Linked DNA regions of Homo sapiens: regions 1 and 3 are each linked to region 2. Evidence: promoter capture Hi-C in 16 types of primary human blood cells and fetal thymus (Javierre and others, 2016). All regions are on one chromosome and are shown on one strand. The core of a region is centred on a gene start or on the middle of the fragment in contact, and the rest is flanking DNA. Distances in the headings are between cores, read along the strand shown. Region 1 holds the start of ZNF626 (zinc finger protein 626). Region 2 holds the start of ATP13A1 (ATPase 13A1). Region 3 overlaps LOC105372310 (a long non-coding RNA gene).

What was found. Contacts are between HindIII fragments. The CHiCAGO score rates a contact against its expected background, and 5 or more counts as called.
Region 1: a contact is called between a fragment that was not itself captured here and the fragment with the promoter of ATP13A1 in region 2, in 1 of 17 cell types (total CD8 T cells). The highest score is 6.5, in total CD8 T cells.
Region 3: a contact is called between a fragment that was not itself captured here and the fragment with the promoter of ATP13A1 in region 2, in 2 of 17 cell types (total CD8 T cells and fetal thymus). The highest score is 5.5, in total CD8 T cells.

The regions. Positions count from the first base shown.
Region 1 is chr19:20,657,722-20,661,815 of GRCh38, reverse strand. ZNF626 (zinc finger protein 626) reads left to right here and starts at 245. Exons shown (of 4, transcript NM_001076675.3): 1 at 245-372. The coding sequence starts at 370. RefSeq lists a silencer at 51-120. The HindIII fragment of the contact is 495 bases long and covers 1,003-1,497 here.
Region 2 is chr19:19,660,215-19,664,936 of GRCh38, reverse strand. It overlaps ATP13A1 (ATPase 13A1), which reads left to right and starts at 1,261. Exons shown (of 26, transcript NM_020410.3): 1 at 1,261-1,666. The coding sequence starts at 1,271. RefSeq lists silencers at 775-824, 1,265-1,524 and enhancers at 925-1,214, 1,558-1,659, 931-1,913, 2,045-2,094, 2,795-3,274 and 1 more. The HindIII fragment of the contact is 4,289 bases long and covers 1-2,112 here.
Region 3 is chr19:20,238,039-20,242,809 of GRCh38, reverse strand. LOC105372310 (a long non-coding RNA gene) reads left to right here. Exons shown (of 7, transcript XR_007067164.1): 2 at 2,173-2,310; 3 at 3,020-3,828; 4 at 4,260-4,522. Among named protein-coding and RNA genes, the nearest start is that of ZNF486, 73 kb to the right of the region's middle. RefSeq lists enhancers at 3,585-4,103, 4,615-4,771. The HindIII fragment of the contact is 325 bases long and covers 2,146-2,470 here.

The DNA of each region.
Region 1 (4,094 bases), core at 1-2,500, 1.0 Mb before region 2:
AATTCTCCCATGCTCTGGGGTGGGCCTGGCTCAGCTCAGGAAGGAAGCCCTGCCTGAAAAGGCTGCAGCTTAGGCTGTCACTCTTTCTTCACTCAGCTCAGCGTCTGATCACATCTACTGTCACTCAGGGCCTCAGGGGGCGGGGCCTTAAGCATTATCCAATCAGGGATGGTGGGCTGGAAACCATCCAATCAGGAACGCAGCTGGAGCGAAGAGGACGGTTTCCGGGTTTGGTGCGGCCTTTGTCTCTCGCTGCAGTCAGAGCTCCAGGTCTGGTTCTTCTCCTAAAGGCCCAGGCTGTGTGGCCCCGTGTCCTGCAGGTATTGGGAGATCCACAGCTAAGACACCGGGACCTCCTGGAAGCCAAAAATGGTGAGAGTGAGGGTCCGACATCCCGAGAGAGGAGAGGGACTGGTTGGAACCGGTGAAAAGTGGCTGTGGCGGGACTCAGGCCTCCCCGCAGTCAGCTCCACAGTCTGCTCCCCCAGTTCTCCTTGCTCAGCTCGGCCTCAGTCCTGTTCAGCCATAAAATGGCAGCTGCGCTGACAGCCGGCACCCGGGCGTCTTGTCTCTTCACTGCGCGGTGACTACCCTGGCCTGGAGCCCTCTCTGGGCAGCTCTGCACCCGCAGCGTGGCGTCTCTCCCAGATTGTGCAGGGACCAGGGGAGGGTGGGCAGGGGAGAATCCTGACTCGGGGTGCGGGTTCATGAATGGGAAGAGCTTTGTTCCTTTGGGTTTACAGTTTCTCTTTTCTCCTATTAAAAATGTATGGGGCCGGACGCTGTGGCTCACGCCTGTAATCCCAACGTTTTGGGAGGCCGAGGCGGGCGGATCACTTGAGGTAAAGAGGTGTTAGGACAACTAAGTTCCTTTTAAATGACTCAACTTTCTGGTCATAAGTTGTAAAAGTTGTAAATCAACCCTACCTCTTCTTCTACCCCCTTTTCCTTTTCTCGCAAATCGCGCATTTACTTTATTTGGAAAAAGTTTGGGTCTAAGCTTACCAGGATCAGCTTAGATTGTGCGGTCTGATCCCAGCCAATAGGGGATGGAAACAAAAACAGGAACTGCATTAGGGTTCAAAACCCCTTTCTTGCTGGGCGCGGTGGCTCAAGCCTGTAATCCCAGCACTTCGGAGGCCGAGGCAGGTGGATCACGTGGTCAGGAGTTCTAGACCAGCCTGGCCAACGTGGTGAAACCCGTCTCTACTAAAAATACGAAAACTATCGGCGTGTTGGCACGTGCCTGTAGTACCAGCCACTTGGGAGGCTGAGGCACGAGAATTGCTTGAACCCGGGAGGCGGAAGTTGCAGTGAGCTGAGATCCAATCATCGCGCTCCAGCCTGCGTGACAAAGCGAGACTCCGGCTCAAAAAAAAGAAAAAAAAAGTAAGCATCTTAAAAATTCCTTTATGTAAACATTGTGAGTAATTTCACTGGAGTTTCTAACACTTAGTTTCAAAAACCAAGTGAATAACTGATGTGGACATTAAAGCTTGAACCTAGTGACTCCAAGCTAAGGCTAATATTAAGCCTGCAACAGGGTATTTTTTTTTTTTTTTTTTTTTTTTTAGACACAGTGTCGCTTGTGGTGCCCAGGCTGGAATGTAATGGCGTGATCTCGGCTTACTGGGTTCAAGCGATTCTCCTACCTCAGCCCCACCAGTAGCTGGGATTACAGGCATGCACCATCACGCCCGGCTAATTTTGGTGTTTAGTAGAGACGGGTTTTCTCCATGTTTGTCAGGCTGGTCTTGAACTCTCTGCCTCAGACCCGCTTCGGCCTCCCAAAGTGCTGGCATTATCGGTGTGAGCCACCGCACCCGGCCAACAGGAGGTTATTAAAGGCCCTGTTATTTTTTTCTGGGGAGTCTCCCTTGCGGATATCTCAAGACTGCTCACCCCAGCCACGGAAGGAGCCTTCATTCTGAAAGAAGCTACAAAGCCTTGGAAAGCTGGGGCCCCACAGGCAGATGCAGTCAAGATTAAGATGAAAGGAAACTGGGAGGGTCTTACTGGTAATGAAGTTGTTATGGTTTTGAGGCACTTTTTACGCTTTCTAAAATAAGAATATTAGATTTATGTAAAAAAAAAATGAATTCCTAAGAAGTATTGCAACAGGAAGAAGTACCAGCTAACTAAAAAATCTTCATGGGTTGCAAAAATGTAGGCAGAAAAGGGCTTTTCTCCTACATTGGAGATGGCTTATCTCCATCCCTCACTAGCCTGAGGGATGGAGATAAACTTAAGTAAAGTTTGATTAAGAAATATTTTAGGCTGAGCGCCATGGCTCAGGCATGTAATCCCAGCAGTTTGGGAGGCCTAGGCGGACGGATCACCGCAAGTCAGGAGCTTGAGACCAGCCTGGTCAACATGGTGATAACCCTGTGTCTACTAAAAATACAAAAATTAGCTGGTAGTTGTGGTGGCCACCTGTAATGCCAGCTACTTGGGAGGCTGAGGCAGGAGAATTGCTTGAACCATGGAGACAGAGGTTGCAGTGAGCTGAGACGGTGCCAAGGCACTCCAGCCTGGGTGGCCGAGCGAGACTCCATCTCAAAAAAAAAAAATTATTTTGACCACTGAAGACAAATTCAGCTGAATTTCTTAATGAGAAAAAGGAGAAAATGTACAGAGTGTGTGTCTGGCTGTGTGATAGGTAAGAAAAGAGAGCACCATCTAAGTCATAATGAGAAAGGCGTTTCTTTCCGTATACTGTTCCTGGAGCACACAAAAGGTGGAGAATTTTATTAATCACAAATATTTTCCAGGATTTTCTATGTGTTTCATCTTTCCCCATCTCTTTGTTCTATGCATTTCTTCCATTTGGCTTTTCCTGGGCTGCATCTTTTATATGAAACCGGTAAACATAACTACAATGTTTTGCTGAGTTCTGTAAGTAGCTGTACCAAATTATTGAACTTCAGGGAGGTTTTGGGAGTCCTCAGTTTTCAAACAGTAGCTCAGAAGCATAGATGGGCCTATGGGGTTTTTGATTGGCCTCTGCAGTGAGGACAATGTTGTGGGACCCAGCCCTGGATCAGGGTCTGTGCTGTCTCTAGGTGGTGTCAGAATTCAATTATTAGGCAATGAGTTGGTGTTGGAGAATTGTTTGATATTCAGCAAACTCTATAGATTTGGTGCCAGAAAAAAGATATCACTGGGGCCAGACCTGGAACAAAGCTCTGGGTATTTGAAAATGGGAGGCTCTGCTCTCCTGTACACAGGCTGTCACACTGCCTGTTGTCCTGTGATTTAAGGTCTTCTTCCAGGGTGACAGAAGACTGAAAACTTAGAGGAAAGAGTTCTGATGACAGACCCTGTTTTCTTGTAGCTGCCACCACAGGATTCCCACCCACTCCTAAACACACACAGTAGACATTGACATGTCCTCACTCCTCCCAGTACTGGGCACCACCCTCAGGAACTTCACCATGGCATTTTTGATCCTAGCGTTTCTTGCCAAGAACCCAAAAGTCTCTACAGGTCTCCTGGCATATCCCCACCCCTAGATACAGAATCTGCCGCACCAACCTGTTTTTTCCACCAACCTAAGGTTCTGGACCTCCCGGTTATAATCTCATCTGTCTGCATGCAAACAAAGATAAATCAGAAAACAGCCCCACCTGGGCCACTATCTGTAATGAAAATCAGTCCATTCACCTACATTGCACTCTCTCCCACGCAGGGATTTTTTTTTTTTCTTTTTTTAGCTTTGATTTTTGGTTGGGTGTACACATGTGGGTTTGTTATACAACTAAAATTACGTCATGGGGGTTTGAAGTGCAGATTATTTTGTCACTGAGGTACTAAGCATACCACCGAACAGGTATGTTTTCTGATCCTCTTACTGCTCCCACCCTCCCCCCTCAACTAGGCCTCAGTGTCTGTTCTGTTTGTGTTCATGTGTTCTTATTACTTAGCTCTTACTTATAAATAATAACATGCATTTGGTTTTCTGTTTCTGCATTAATTTTCTTTTTTTTGTTTGTTTTTTGTTTTGTTTTTTTGAGATGGATTTTTGTTCTTGTTGCCCAGGCTGGAGTGCAATTGTGCCACCTCGGCTCACCGCAACCTTCGCCTCCTGGATTCAA
Region 2 (4,722 bases), core at 12-2,511:
CCTGAACTCGTGATCCGCCCGCCTCGGCCTCCCAAAGTGCTGGAATTACAGGGGTGAGCCACCGCGCCCGGCCTAGAAGTATATAATTTCAAGTAAACACCAGTTTTTCATTTTTTATGTTAAAGTGGTAATTTCTTTTTTTTTTTTTTTTTTTTTTTGGAGACAGAGTCTCGCTCTGTCGCCCAGGCTGGAGGGCAGTGGCACAATCTCCGCTCACTGCAAGCTCTGCCTCTCCAGTTCGCGCCATTCTGCCTCAGGCTCCGGAGTAGCTGGGACTACAGGCGCCCGCCACCACGCCCGGAGAATTTTTTTTTTTTTTTTGTATTTTTAGTGGAGACGGGGTTTCACCGCGTTAGCCAGGATGGTCTCGATCTCCTGACCTCGGCCTCCCAAAGTGCTGGGATTACAGGCGTGAGCCACCGCGCCCGGCCTAAAGTGGTTTTTGTAATTCATTTTTCTTTTTTTTTTTTTTGAGACAGTCTTGCTCTGTTGGCCAGGCTGAAGTGCAGTGGAGCAATCTTGGCTCACTGCAACCTCCGTCTCCCGGGCTCAAGCAATTCTCCTGCCTCATCCTCCCGAGTAGCTGGGATTACAGGCATGTGCCACCACGCCCGGCTAATTTTTGTATTTTTAGTAGAGACGTGGTTTCACCATGTTGGGTCTTGAACTCCTGATCTCAGGTGATCCACCCGCCTCGCCTCCCAAAGTGTTGGGATTACAGGCGTGAGCCACCGCGCCCGGCTAGTATTTGTAATTCTTATCTATCACATTAAGGCTCTTGTCCGGTGTGGTTGTGTTCCGGGGCGGTCCCCGACCCCGCCCCTCACAAGCCCCGCCCCCCGCACCGGGCCCCGCCTCCTGAACTCCGAAGCTCCCGACCCCGCCTCCGCAGGGTCCAGGCTTCGCCCCTGGTGACAGGTGGTGCTGGTGTAGTCAAGGAGGAGGGCTCGCTTTTTTTGGTTCAGGTTGTCATGGTGGCGCCCAAGCCCGCCTTGCCGGCCTTGTCTTTTCCGGTCTCAGTCCGGCGTGGCAGCGGAGGCAGGCACCGTTAGGTCTTCCAGTCCCTCTCTGTCATGGCGACGCCCAGCCTCTTCTTCCGGCCACAGCCTGTCATGGCGGCACCCGAAGTAGTCCCTGCCGGGGCCAGCCTGTTCTGTTGCCCTGGCTCTTCCTAGTCCAGGCTGCCATGGCGGCGCTCAGGGCTTACCGGAAGTAAAACTTCGGAAGTGAGGCGTTCCTCTGCCCGGAAGTGAGCGCGGCGCTAGGAAAGATGGCGGCAGCGGCGGCGGTGGGCAACGCGGTGCCCTGCGGGGCCCGGCCTTGCGGGGTCCGGCCTGACGGGCAGCCCAAGCCCGGGCCGCAGCCGCGCGCGCTCCTTGCCGCCGGGCCGGCGCTCATAGCGAACGGTGACGAGCTGGTGGCTGCCGTGTGGCCGTACCGGCGGTTGGCGCTGTTGCGGCGCCTCACGGTGCTGCCATTCGCCGGGCTGCTTTACCCGGCCTGGTTGGGTGCCGCAGCCGCTGGCTGCTGGGGCTGGGGCAGCAGTTGGGTGCAGATCCCCGAAGCTGCGCTGCTCGTGCTTGCCACCATCTGCCTCGCGCACGCGCTCACTGTCCTCTCGGGGCATTGGTCTGTGCACGCGCATTGCGCGCTCACCTGCACCCCGGTAAGTGTGTACACGCGAGCCCGACCCCCAGCACGGTCGAGCCTCGCCGTGGGTCCCAGCTGCGGCCTTCCTGTCGGTCACCATCGCGACCTGGGCCACTCATCTGCCTGGCCTGGATTCCCAGGGGCACCCTCTACACTTTGGCGCAGGCTTAATCATGACCCCACTGCTGACTTGCTGTGCATGCCTGGTGCGGGTTATTTCCTTTTTCTGAAGTCCTCCCTGTTATGGTCATTTAGATTCAGTGATGTAATACTTGTAAAAGGCTTAGCGCAGGGCCCAGCATACGTCGCCCAGGTCAGGTAGGAGTTGTTTATACTAGTTCCCATATTAGCGACTACTCTTGTTCTGGAAACGGCCCTACCTTCCATCTCATCTGTCTCCTACCTTGGTTTTCAAAGTGTAAGGCGAGATCACTGGGATAGGTTTCCCCCATCTATGAAGCTTAGTTGGTTCTTAGACTGAACCAAGTCTTGCTGTCCAGTGCTTAGTGGTCTTCCATACTGTGATGGAAAGGAGCATGAAATGCAGTTAATTACAGTGTTGAAGAGAGGCAGAGGTGTTTATGAGCGAGTCATTTACATGATGTCTTTCCGCAAAATGAGGGTGGTGATACTGAGTTCTGTCGGGGATACAACAGCAAGCAAGGTCGCGCTCCTGACCCACAGTTTAGAGTTCTGAGTGACCAAGTGTCGTCGGAGGAGTTGGTGACTGTGAGCTTCCCTGGGCCTGAAGCAGTGACTGTGTCGTCTCTCTCTGGGCCTGCCTCAGGTGACACCAGCAGGTTTGGAGCCATGGACACTGAGGTATATCAGGAAGCTTCCCCTCTGATTCCAGGAGTGTGTTTGCCTCAAGAAGAGGAAAAGGGAACAGCATCAAGGGCTACAGAAAGACAGAAGCCCCCCACCCTGGCTGGCTCTGAATGTGGGTAGAATCCTCATTCTCCTCTCCTGAGAGACAACCTGTTCTGTCCTTCAAAAAGACTTATCTATCCCAGGGGAGGAGCTCAACGTGGTAGCTTTGAGGTAGTACAATGAAAGACACCAATGAGGGACAAAATAAAGGAGGGGTTAAGGGGACTGTGGCACCGCTCAAACTTCAGCTGCCTTTTGACCTGCAGCTAAGCAGCTTAGCTCTTAACTTCCTCTCCAGGGATGGAGAAGTGGGAGGAGCTGAACAGCCATCAGCCAGGAGAGGTGGATCTGGGTTTGATTCAGATCTCAGAAAGGGCCGCTTCTGCTCTCTGAGTTTCAGTTTCCCCCTTCTGTAAACTGAGAACCGTAACTAACAACTACTGGGTGCCATCTTGAGAAGCGGAGATGATATCTGCAGAGTGCCCGCCCTGGGGCCATCACAGCGTATAGCCTCTTGTACCTTTCTTCCGTGACGTCACGTTTGTAGTTATGTGATTGTTGTTATTTGCTGCCTGCTTTGGAGGCCCATGAACCACCCGTGCGGTGGCGCTTTGTTTCTGCGGGTCATCATTGTGCTCCCCCCATCTCCATGCAGCTCGTCTCCATGCAGCTCGGTCTAGCAGAGCAGCAGAGGAATGGATGGCGGTTCACGGGGTCCAGGGAGCACTGAACGAGTTCCATTCAACATTTCTGTGTCTTAGGTGCTGGGGAAACAGCAGTGAACAAAACAGGCAAATCCCCCTGCCTTTGTGGTGTTACTGGGAGGGAGAACTCATAGTCAGCAGTTGATGCCAAACAGAGATGACATCTAACATCAGGACAGGATGGGACATTGCCGGGAACTTTAGATGGGGCAGCCAGGGAGGGGCTCCTGAGAAGGTGATGTTTCAGCAAAAGCCTGAGGCAGCAAGGGAGCTGTGTGACTGTGTATTCCGGGCAGAGAAAACAGCACATGCCAAGGCCCTTTGCTGAGGCACGATCGAGCCCCATGTGCGTGTGGAGCTGTGGAGTGTAGTGAGCAGGGTTGGTGGAAGAGGCAGAGCTGAGCAGGAGGCCGGGGGCCTGTGATGGGGCGGGGGCTTGGCTCACGTGAATTGAGGACGTACTGGGTGGGTGCCTGGCAGCGTTCTTCCTATTTGAGTTCATGTCACCTTCAGCAGAGCAGAGCCCTGGGCATTAGGTGCTGTCTGTGCACCCAGCTTCCCAGCTTTTTTTGTTGTTGTTTTTGTTTTTGTTTTGTTTTTTGGGGTTTTTTTGTTTGTTTGTTTGTTTGTTTTTGAGATGGAGTCTGGCTCTGTTGCCCAGGCTGGAGTGCAGTGGCACAATCTCGGCTCACTGCAACCTCCGCCTCCCAGGTTCAAGTGATTGTTCTGCCTCAGCCTCCCGAGTAGCTGAGACTACAGGTGCCTGCCACTATGCCCAGCTAATTTTTATATTTTTAGTAGAGACGGGGTTTCACCATATTGGCCAGGCTGGTCTCAAACTCCTGACCTCGTGATCCCCCCTGCCTCAGCCTCCCAAAGTGCTGGGATTACAGGTGTGAGCCACTGCACCCAGCCTTTTTATTTTGAGACAGAGTCCTGCTCTGTCGCCCAGGCTGGAGTGCAGTGGTGCAATCTCGGCTCACTGCAAGCTCTGCCTCCTGGGTGCACGCCATTCTCCTGCCTCAGCCTCCCAAGTAGCTGGGACTACAGATGCCTGCCACCACGCCCAGCTAATTTTTTGTGTTTTTAGTAGAGATGGGGTTTCACCGTGTTAGCCAGGATGGTCTCAATCTCCTGACGTCGTGATCTGCCCACCTCGGCCTCCCAAAGTGCTGGGATTACAGGTGCGAGCCACTGTGCCTGGCTGGTTTTTTGTTTTTTTTTTTTTAATTGAGATAGGATCTCACTCTGCCACCCAGGCTGGAGTGCAGTGTTGCAATCTCAGTTCACTGCAACCTCCGCCTCCCAGTTCAAGGGATTCTCCTGCCTCAGCCTCCTAAGTAGCTGGTATTACAGGTGTGCACCACCGTGTCCGGCTCATTTGTGTATTTTTAGTTGAGACAGGGTTTCGCCACATTGGCGAGGCTGATCTCAAACTCCTGATCTCAAGTGATCCGCCCACCTTGGCCTCCCAAAGTGCTGGGATTATGGGTGTGAG
Region 3 (4,771 bases), core at 1,059-3,558, 580 kb before region 2:
CGCCCAGGCTGGAGTACAGTGGCATGATCTCAGCTCACTGCAACCTCCACTCCTGGGTTCAAGTTATTCTCTCACTTCTACCTCCTGAGTAGCCTGGACTAGAGACATTCACCATCACACCCAACTAATTTTTGTATTTTTAGTAGAGATGGGGTTTCCCCATTTTGGCCAGGTTTGTCTTAAACTCCTGACCTCAAGTGATCCACCTGCCTAGACCACCTAAAGTGCTGGGATTACAGGTGTGAGCCACTGCACCTGGCCCCATAAATTTTTTTTGTTTGTTTTTGAGATGGAGTTTTTCTCTGTTGCCCAGGCTGGAGTGCAGTGGCACGATCTTGGCTCACTGCAACCTCCACCTCCCAGGTTCAAGCAATTCTCCTGCCTCAGCCTCCTGAGTAGCTGGGATTACAGGCACACGCCACAATGCCCAGCTAATTTTTTTGTATTTTTTTAGTAGAGATGGGGCTTCACCATATTGTCCAGGCTGGTCTTGAACTTCTGACCTCAAGTGATCTGCCCACCTCAGCCTCCCAAAGTGCTGGGATTACAGGCATGAGTCACCATGCCCAGCCGCTGGCCTCATAAATTTATAATAGGAGAAAAGAGAAATTGTAAACCCTGTGAGATATAATAGATCTCATCCTCCCAAGTAGCTGGGATTACAGGCATGTGGCACCATGCCTGGTTAATTTTTTGTATTTTTAGTAAAGACAGGGTTTCTCCATGTTGGTCAGCCTGGACTCGAACTACCGACCTCAGGTGATCCACCCACCTCGGCCTCCCAAACTCCTGGGATTAAAGGCGTGAACCGCTGGGCCTGGCCTAGCTGCAGCCTTTTCAAACAGGGCTTCCTACCTGAGCTGAGCCAGGCCCATTCCAGAGCATGGGAAAATTCTATCTCTTTTCATTGTCTCTCTTTTTGAATGTATTCAAAAGATGAACGGAAGTATTGTGCTGTCATATTAATAATACATAAAATTTTTGTTCAAGAGAAAATCAACTTTTACTTGTTAATAGTGTATTATCAACACTAAAGCCAATTTTAATAAAACCTTATAAAGCTGGTGCAGTGGCTCACACCTATAATCCTGGCCCTTTGGAAGGCTGAGGCGGTCGGATCAGGAGTTCAGGAAATCGAGACCATCCTGGCTAATACAGTGAAACCCCGTCTCTACTAAACATAAAAAAAATTAGCCGGGCCTCCTGGTATGAGCCTGTGGTCCCAGCTACTAGGGAAGCTGAGGCAAGAGAATCGCTTGAACCCGTGAGGTGGAGGTTGCGGTGAGCCAAGATCGCACCGCTGCACTCCATCGTGGGCAACAGAGCAATATTTTGTCTCAAAAAATAAAAATATAAATAAATAAATAAATACAACCTTGTAAATAAACAAAATTTGTCATTTTTGACCTCTCAAGATATACATGTATATTTTGTAATCTCTTGTAATTTTTTGAACTTTTTATATTTTATTTTTATCTGCATTCTTTTTATTTTTTCAATTTGAAACCACCTTTAAGTAATTTCACATTGTTATAGGAAACAAAAAGATATCATTTAGTGATAACCTCAGTGGCTCACGCCTGTAATCCCAGAACTTTGGGAGGCCTAGGTGGGTGGATCACTTGAGGTCAGGAGTTCAAGACTAGCCTGGCCAACATGGTGAAACTCCATCTCTACTAAAAATACAAAAAATTAGCAGGTTGTGGTGGTGCACTTTTGTAGTGCCAGCTACTCTGGAGACCGAAACAGAAGAATCGCTTGAACCCAGGAGGTGGAGGTTGTGTAAGGCCCAAGAGGTTCACCTTGCCCTTTGCCTAGACAGAGCTGATTCATCAAGACAGGCGAATTTGTGGAGGAAAAGTTAAATAATAAATTTGAACTCAATTGAACGTGGACACAAACAATGGTCACCGAGTCCCAGAACAGGTTGTGTGAGCCCCTTCAAGCGTTCATTCAGTGCTGTTTTGGAGAAATCTCTATTTCAATCTATTCCTATGCATTAGTTATTGAAAAACAATAGGCAATCGCAAAAACAAGTTGACATTTTTATGTTCCTCGTGCCGGGTCATGAAAGGCCCTCGTGACTAGGCCTCATGCGAAACAACTAGTTACAAAAGAGCTAGGATACCAGACTGGGCTGAAGCTTCATGAGACCTCTTCTCATCTGTGCAGGAATGAGCGGCCGACTCTGGAGCCCAAGCTGTTGCTTCCCATCTGGTGGTGAGGCCTCCACTGTCTGGTGAGTGCAATGTCCGATGCTAGAGCCCAGGCTGTTGCTTCCCACTCTGGTAGTGAATCCTCCATAGTCTGGTGAGTGTAAATATATATATATTTTTTCCTTTCTCCTCTTCCCATTGCAATTTGCTTATTATATCAATCTACTTGTTATATCAATCTGCTTATTATATTGATTTGCTTATTACATAATTTGCTTATTATATCTGCATTGCTATTTACGTGGAATGAAGCTTGTTTACCCTTAAAGGTATTGTGTGTGTGTCTTTCCTTCTCCCCCTCGTGCGTTTCCCGCACAGAACACTTTTGGTGTCACAAACAGGATTCAAAAACAAAAGTGTGCCACTTTTTAGCAACAAGGGCAGGGCGGGAGGCTCGAGGACTTCCCATATCCCCGGATGGAAACTCCCCCAGTTCTCTCCCTTGGCAATTGAATGGTCAAGGGGAACCGGACTTTGTAAGAATTGGGAATCTAAATTAGTGCAATTTAGACCTTTGTGCGTGAAGTGCTGCAGGGAATTCCAGTCAGCAAAGGAGACGCTGAGGGGATCTCCCAGAGTGGATGGTGTTTCCTTACTGCTTATAAGATAATGTGTCAAGATAGGGGCTGGTTGCATCCTATGAAATGCAGGGAAATAATTCATTTTACCAAAGGCTAAGCCTAAAATACTAGAATTTGCAACCCCTACCACTAAAAATGAGGCTCAGAAATTTATTGGCTTGTTTGGATTCTGGAGACATCATATTCCCCACTTGGGTAACATGTTACAACCTCTGCATGCAGCCACCAGAAAACGCTATGACTTTGGGGAGAGAAAGAGATCATGGCTTCCGAACAAGATAAACAAGCAGTGCAACTGGCCCTGGATCTATGACCCATTTGGGATGGTCCCGTAGAACTGCAAGTAACTGTCCTAGATCAACATGCTAATTGGAGCCTTAGGCAGAAACAAGATGGGAAGAGGTACATTTCTGGTTTTGGACCCAGAAACTGCCAGAGGCCAGCAAAGCTTATAACCCTTTCGAGGAGCAATTGTTAGCTTGCTATTGGGCTTTGCTGGAAACGAAACACCTCTGCTTCAACCATGATGTCTTTATGAGGCTTGAAATTCCTATTATGACTTGGGTCATGAGTTCCCCCGAAACTCACCAGATAGGGCACGCCAAGGGGGAGAACTGGGGGAGTTTCCATTCCGGGATTTGGGACGTCCCCAAGTTTCCAGCCTTGGGCTCCAGAGTCAGACACCGCACTCTCCAGGCTGGAAGATTCTCCACCAGGCCAGGAAGCAACAGCATGGGTTCCAGAGTGGGACACCCGCACTCACCAGACTATGAAGGACTCACCACCAGACCAAGAAGCAACAGCCTGAGCTCCAGAGTCAGACACCACCCTCATCAGACTGTGGAGGATTCACCACCAGACAGGGAAGCAACAGCCTGGGCTCCAGAGTTGGCCACTCGTCCGTGCACAGACGAGGAGAGGTCTCATGAAGCTTCGGTGCAGTCTGGGACCACAGCTCTTTAGTAACGAGTTGTTTGGCATAAAGCCCAGTCACAGGGCTCTTCAGGACAGGGCTTAAGGAACACAAAAAGGTCAGCTTGTTTTTGTGATTGTCTATTGTTTTTCAACAATAGTAGCTGTAATCCCAGCTACTCAGGAGGCTGAGGCAGGAAAATCGGGTGAGCGAGACCCCGCCACTGCACTCCAGCCTGGGTGACAAAGCGAGACTCCGTCTCAAAAAAAAAAAAAAAAACATTAGCTTTAGTATTGATAATACACTACTAACAAAGTAAACGTTGATTTTCTCTTGAACAAAAATTTTATGTATTATTAATATGCCAGCAAAATACTTCTGTTCACCTTTTGAATACATTCAAAAGGAGAGTGAGTACAAAAGAGAATTTTCTCATGCTCTGGGGGGGGCCTGGGTCAGCTCAGGAAGGAAGCCCTGCCTGTAAAGGCTGCAGCTTAGGCTGTCTCTCTTCACTTAGCCCAGCATCTGATCACATCTTCTGTCACTCAGGGCCTGAGGGGCGGGACCTAAAGCATTATCCAATCAGAGACGCTGGGCTGGAAACCGTCCAATCAGGCACGCAGCTGGAGCGACGAGGACGGCTTTCCGCTTTTGGCGCGGCCTTTGTCTCTAGCTGCAGCCGGCGTTTCAGGTCTCGTCTTCACTGGTCTGTGTCCTATTCTCCTGGAGGCCCAGCCTCTGTGGCCCTGTGACCTGCAGGTATTGGGAGATCCACAGCTAAAACCCCAGGACACCCTGGAAGCATAGAAATGGTGAGAGTGCCCGGCCGACATCCCGAGACAGGAAGAGGGGCAGGGTGGAACTGGTGGGAAGTGACTGTGGCGGGACTCAGGCCTCTTCGCAGTCAGCTCCACAATGTGCGCCCCAAGTTCTCCTTGCCCAGGTTGGCCTCAGCCCCCTTCAGCCTTAAGATGGCGACTGCGCTGACAGCCGGGCCGCCAGGCCTCCTGTCTCTTCCTCTCGCAGTGACTGTGCCATGGCCTGGAGCCCTTTCTAGGCAG